Regions from separate parts of the Homo sapiens genome. Here region 2 is linked to region 1. The links are contacts of gene promoters, found by promoter capture Hi-C in human tissues and cell types (Jung and others, 2019). All regions are on one chromosome and are shown on one strand. The core of a region is centred on a gene start or on the middle of the fragment in contact, and the rest is flanking DNA. Distances in the headings are between cores, read along the strand shown. Region 1 holds the start of KRTAP11-1 (keratin associated protein 11-1). Region 2 overlaps HUNK (hormonally up-regulated Neu-associated kinase).

Region 1 (3,361 bases), core at 554-3,053:
TCTGTCATTCCAGGAATGTGGCAGTAGGCACTGAAACGTTCTCCTTTGTAACTCTACTACTCACTTCAGATTTTGGGAATTGCCACAGTTAAGTACTCTTCCATAGTAGCCTGTGAACCTGTGGCTGGGAGAAGCCTGTAAACTAGTAATCCATTTTACAACATGCAAGCCAGGCCCTAGGGCCAAGGACTCAGGCCTTCAAACACCAACTAAGATACCCTCTGTGGTGGGAAGAGCATAGCCACAACATTGTGGAAAGTAGTCATCTCATTAATTTCACCCCGTTCCTGGGAACACATGGTGAGTCACTGAGGGAGGGTCAGGACATTGAGGTCTGATATCTGGGAATCATGCTATTGCTCACAGCACCCTCTTCTTTGGGTGTGTCGTTAGTTTCCAATTAGGGATTTCTGATGAGTCCTGACATAACGCTGTTTGCTTTGTGGATATTTAAAACATAGCTTACCTGTAGCCCTCAAATACATGGAAATCCATTTTATTCCCTTACGCTCCCTCATGTAAGCTAGTTTAAAAATGAGTCAGATGCTACAGCTGTTTTGGGACAGAAATACCACTGACCACTTGAAGCGATGTTGAAGTTGCTTATTTTGCCAGAGTTGAGGCAGTTTATTCATCTATGTTCAGGTGGACCCAAACGAGCCATCATTCTGGTGTTTAAAATTCATTATATTGTAGTGAGATGAAATAAAATAGAGTGATATCCCTATAGCTTCCCCAAGCATAAAAAGAATAATTAAATATAGCACACTCTTCACACATCTCTTCATTACCAAACATTGATTAAGTGCCTGCTTCCCCCAGCTCTGCCTCCCCCTTATCCCTGATGGAGACAATGACCTTGAAGAGCCTTTAGTTTGTCCATAATTAAAATGCATTCTATCTATATGTGTGAAAATAAATATCTTTTGAACATATTGAACAAATTGGGAGAAAGACACTGTACCCTTTCAAATTAACATTATGATAATTTTAAAAATTAACTAAGCCTTTTCCACTGGCATATTAATGAGACCCAGGAGTCACTATTATCCACTGTTATTAAATTAAACATTTTAGGAATAAAGCTCATCCAATTTACTTAGAAAAGGTCTTGGCTACAAATACAGTTGCACTTAGTTAGCTTCTAATTTGCTTTGTTGGTTGAACATAAAGGGTGGGTCCCACTGCCCTCTAGCCTTCCCACGGGCATCTTGTTTGAGTCAGTTGATTAATTTTGAGAGCCAGCTCAGACTTTGGATACAAGTCTCTGTGCCCTTTGTTCCTGTCAAGTGTTGTCACTGTTGTCTTGAAACATATTCAAGGAGGCACCTTCCCAATGAGGAGCTCCGTTAGGTGTGGTAGAGTGACTGATTAAGTTATGTTTAAAAGATATTAAGTCCAGTGACAAATGAAACAGGGCATGGGCTTGTAATTGGTCCTGGTAGGGAGGGAGAGAGTGTGTGATGGTAGGATGGTGGCATCTTTGGTAGGATGAGTGTCAGGTCAACACTCATCATAAGCAAGATGAATGAGGGACAACGTGTGGGCTGGGATGACCAATAGCTTTGAAGCTGCCAACCAGCCTTCTTAATCAGACTAAGTACAGTACAGAAGACTTGTGATTTAGTTACCAAACTACTAAACTTTCTTTATGAGGGTGAAGGCTTCTTAAGAGACAATTAATGTGTAGATTCACAAGATGTTCTAAGGCAAACTGGTCTGAGCCAAAGAAGCCACGGAGACCAGGGAGAGAGCCCCACCCACCAGCAAGGATATATAAAAGCTCAGGAGTCTGGAGTGACATTCACAACTCAGGAGGTAACTTCAGCAAGCTACCTGCAGCCCTCTGTCTGACATCATGTCCTTCAACTGCTCCACAAGAAATTGCTCTTCCAGGCCCATTGGAGGACGCTGCATTGTTCCAGTGGCCCAAGTTACCACGACTTCCACCACTGATGCTGACTGCCTGGGCGGCATCTGTTTGCCCAGTTCCTTCCAGACTGGCTCTTGGCTCCTGGACCACTGTCAAGAGACCTGCTGTGAGCCCACTGCTTGCCAGCCAACCTGTTACCGGCGAACTTCATGTGTCTCCAACCCTTGCCAGGTGACTTGCTCTCGACAAACTACCTGTATTTCCAACCCCTGCTCAACTACCTACAGCCGGCCGCTCACCTTTGTCTCTAGTGGATGTCAGCCCCTGGGAGGCATCTCCAGTGTCTGCCAACCAGTGGGCGGCATCTCTACTGTCTGCCAACCAGTGGGAGGAGTCTCTACTGTCTGCCAGCCAGCCTGTGGGGTCTCCAGGACGTATCAGCAGTCCTGCGTGTCCAGCTGCCGAAGAACCTGCTAAGTGTGTAGGAGCCAGTGAGCGAATCAAGACTCCACGACCTGCCAGCTGTTTCCAGGATCTTCCAGCATGCTGCTTGTCCCTGAATAGCTCTTCATAGCTGACCCTTCTTGTGACCGCCTGACTGCTGGCTACTATCCATGCACACGCTGTCTTTAGCACTCTAAAATTTTTCTGGCCAGCCCTAAGCTTGTTTTAAGGGTTGCTCACTGGTGCTGTGTATGCCTCTGGATGTGTCCAGAAGCTTTACCATCCACACCCCAGTCTCTGATGCTTTTGACATGTTTTCACCTTGCTGCTGTATCTCCTGGCCTCTGCTTTTGTGTCTCACAAAAACAGAGCTTGTCTCACCATGTATTTCTCAATAAACCTGCATTAGTTGGCATTGCAAATGTATGTCTCAGCAGAATTCTTTTTTAAACATTTCAACTTTTAATTTAGTTTTTGCGGGGTACATGTGCAGGTTTGCTACAGGGGTATACTGTGTGATGCTGAGGTTTGGGGTATGATTGAACCCATCTGTCAGGTATTGAACATAGTACCCAATAGGTAGTTTTCCAACCCTTTTCCTCTTCCTCACTCCCCGCTCTTCCAGTTGCCAGTGTCTATTGTTTTTATCTTTATGTCCACGTGTACCTAATGTTTAGCTCCTACTTATTAGTGAGAACAGGTGGTATTTAGTTTTCTCAACAGAGCTCCTTGTTTGCAAGAGTCTTTGCTGATCAGGGTCTGATTTTTTTTTTCCTGAGCCTAGAATATGGGCTTAATCATTATGCCCTGTGACCAAACCAAGGATTATCTTATATTTTACTTGTTCAGAGAGAGTCTTCAGCTGTGCGGTGAAGTAAGGGCTATGATTTTTCTTTTCTTTTCTTTCTTTCTTTTTCTTTTTCTTTTTTTTCTTTTTTTTGAGATGGAGTCTCACTCTGTCGCCCAGGCTGGAGTGCAGTGGCACGATCTTGGCTCACTGTAAACTCTGCCTACTGGGTTCAAGTGATTCTCCTGCCTCAGCCT
Region 2 (3,361 bases), core at 422-2,921, 1.1 Mb before region 1:
CTTGGGCAACAACCCAGGGTTGCCTCAAAAGACTTGGGCAACAGGCCAGGCTTTTTCAAAGTATGATGAACCAGAAGTGCTAAGGACAAACTAGATGTGCATTTTTGTTCTATTTTCATAACCGAGCGCTCTGCATCTTCAAAAACTGCTGATGAGCACAAGTAATTTTAGTTCAAATCTCCGCTGACGAATTTTCTTCCTTTGGACGTCACAGACATTGCATTACTATCCAAAAAGGACTTTGAGAAGTCCTTAGAGCTCTTTGAAGTTTGTTTTAGGGTCCTGAAAACCCCTGCCTTATGGGCAAAAGAGATTAAAATATTCCTCACCATCCTGGAAAGCCATGCCAGGCATGGCCACAGGCCACACGCCACCCTCCACCCCTCTGAGATAACACTTAGGTTCTCCACTGAAGCCTGGAAAAATAGTACCACCCTGCTCAACGTAACACACAGAACACCTTCCTCCATCGCAAACCCCACTTTCTTTCATGAACCATCAGCTTTCCAAAGTCTGGACTGGCTTGTGTGAGCACCTGAACACTGTACCAAGTGAAAGGGCTGCAGGTCTGTCATCAGACTTTTCACATTAGTGTAGCCTGATAGATGCAAATAGAGACCCCTCCCCACTTGAAGCTCCCTCCTCATCACTTCCCAAGCTAAAAAATTATTTGATAATCTGATCATTGTGCCTTCTTGGACATCGTAATTAGCACTGACTCAACCCTCATAAAAGCTAACGCTTCTCCTCCAGTTTGACTTTGGAGAATTCACAGCACAAAACCATCATAACCTGAAGTGACTGCTTGGAATGTATTATAAATGCTAGTGTTGAGGTGTAGTGATGAAAAGGTAACAGTCTGAAAAACTGCTCAGCCATAAAAGGCATTCGCTACTCTGTGACATACAAGTGCCAACAAGCAAAAAGAAAGTGTGTAGAAGAGAGACTTAGAAAGGCCCTCGAAGCTTAAGTTTGCAAACGGCATGACAGAGATGAATGAAGGGCAGTTCTTTGGAAGCATGTTCTGTGGATTCACAAGGGCAATAATGCTGTTTTCAACTCAAGTTTGGTAAAAATTCTTCCAACTTAATCTTTAAAAAGAGCCGAAGAATTAATAGATATGATCATTACATATATGAGTGACAGGGCCAGGTGCAGTACCCCAGCAGTTTGAGAGTCCGACGCAGGAGGATTGCTTGAGCCCAGGAGTTCAAGACCAGCTTGAGCAACATAGGGAGACCCTCTCTCTATAAAAAATATACCCCCCACCAAAAAAAATTAGCTGGGCATGGTGGCATGCGCCTGCAGTCCCAGCTACTTGGGAGGCTGAGGCGGGAAGACTGCTTGGTTTCGGAGGCCGAGGCTGCAGTGAGCCATGATTGTGCCACTGCACTCCAGCCAGGATGACACAGTGAAACCTTGTCTTAAACAAAAACAAAAACAAATATGAATGACAGAGTCATCCAATTAATAAAGATGTGCATTAGTGAGACACAATAAAACTGGCATATTTTCTATTTGGATTGACATTACTCAAAACATAAGGTCATAGAGACAATAGATAATACCTCCAACTTTTTGTAGGGGGGGTGCGTCTTATACTAAATAAAATCAGAGAAGAGTGAAATAACACAGCATGGTAGGAAAATCTAGGTTTTCAGTCAAGCAGACTTAATCTCTCTGAGACTCAATTTCCTCACTGGTAAACAGGGACTTACCTTGCAGGATTGTATAAAAACAACACCACATGAAAAACACCTACAAAGGATTATTCAATAAGTGGCAGCTACTCATGTTACTGGTAAACTAGTATTTTTGGATATAAGCAGGGCCAGGCTGGTTGGAAGGGAGAGGAGATAAACTTAGCGGGGTGCAAAGGATTGAAAAAATGGGAGGCTGTCAGAAGGGCAGCAGCTGATCCTCAAACCTGAAGACATTCACTCTATGAACCAGATAAGATGCCCTGGGCTGCCTCAGCAGCTGGTGCACTGCTCTGGGCCCTACTGGGTCAGGACAATTCCCAATCCTGAGTAATCAAAATAATCTATGGGCCACCTTTCCAGGTCACACAGACACATTAACACCAGAGTCAGCAACCTAGATTCCCTGAGTGTCTATCATGTGCAAACACCTCACTTGACACCTGGCTCAAAGGATTTCAATCCTAGTTGAAAAAAGATATTTCTATATCCCAATAGTTATTTTAAAAAGGAGGAGATGGGGAGAGCATCAGATTCCCTAATTAGAAAATCAGATATAGAAATGCAATTCATGCTTGACAAGTGAAGACAACAAAGTCCTGTAGGAATGTGAAGATCTTTAACAAGCACACACAGAGCTTAAGGCCAAGGCAAAGCTGTCTGCTCAATGCAGGAGCTATGCGAGGTTGGACAGCAATTCCAGTGATGCTGAAATTGCTGGGAACATTTTTAATATGTCTCCTTTGGGACTAACTTTGGACCATTTTTTAACATCTTCAGAACTGCAACTCCTGCTTCTTTAAGGTTAAATTTAATTTTCACAAAAAACACTTAGAGCCCAGCCTGCTAAGACTGCGTGATGTTATTGAAAGTAAAAACAAGGTATGGTTCTGAAGCAATGAGATTGATTTTCTTGTGTTACTAACCTACCTGCGCTTGTCTGCTCCTTTTCCCACAGCTGTGTGGGGCTCATGCTAATGCTAATCAACAAATATTTCTGGCTTTTCACTTTCAACGCACATGGTAAGGTTGCACTGCCCCATTCTCTTTAGTTGGGTGAAGCCGCATGCCATGTTTTAGAAAGCTTCCACTTACAACTGGAAGATTGGTGGAAGATTTAATTGCTGGCGAAAGAACTTCTCTTTCTCTTTCCCTTTCTCCCTCTGCATGAACCAGAAATGTTGGAAGTGGTGGCTGCTCCATCAGCCTTGGGCCCTTGGCTGGGCAGAACCTTTCAATGTTTGATCCAGCTCTCAACTGAGATGTAGCATGACTGAGAAATAAACCTTTGTGGTCCTGAGCCACTAAGACTTGGGGGCTGATTGTTACTGCAGCATAACCTGGTCTATTCTGACTAATACAATGAAATGGCAGCAGATCAGCAGTTCTCCAGCTCCTCAGGCTGTCATCGGGTTCAAAGAGAGCACTGTCTGCCTTTCCCCACTGTGGGGGTACATTCATCCTCCTTTTGTCCTTTGTTATGGGTCACTTGAATAAAACAGGCTCTGAACCCTCAAAGAAACTTTGGAATCACTCTGAGAGATGGCAATATTTATGACTATATAACCCCTACAGAGACTGCTTTGAAAGACTGCATCTATTTGGAAACATCACATCTTATTTGTACTGCAATGAGATATTATTAGACCCCTATCAGAACA

What was found. Contacts are between HindIII fragments. The study calls those that stand out against the background at their distance.
Region 2: a fragment that was not itself captured here is called in contact with the fragment with the promoter of KRTAP11-1 in region 1 in 1 of the 25 tissues and cell types used here (dorsolateral prefrontal cortex).

Annotation. Positions count from the first base shown.
Region 1 is chr21:30,880,022-30,883,382 of GRCh38, reverse strand. KRTAP11-1 (keratin associated protein 11-1) reads left to right here and starts at 1,803. Exons shown (of 1, transcript NM_175858.3): 1 at 1,803-2,739. The coding sequence starts at 1,859. The coding sequence ends at 2,350. The HindIII fragment of the contact is 5,009 bases long and covers 1-3,277 here.
Region 2 is chr21:31,961,581-31,964,941 of GRCh38, reverse strand. All of the region lies in intron 5 of HUNK (hormonally up-regulated Neu-associated kinase), which reads right to left. Among named protein-coding and RNA genes, the nearest start is that of HUNK, 90 kb to the right of the region's middle. The HindIII fragment of the contact is 4,129 bases long and covers 1-3,361 here.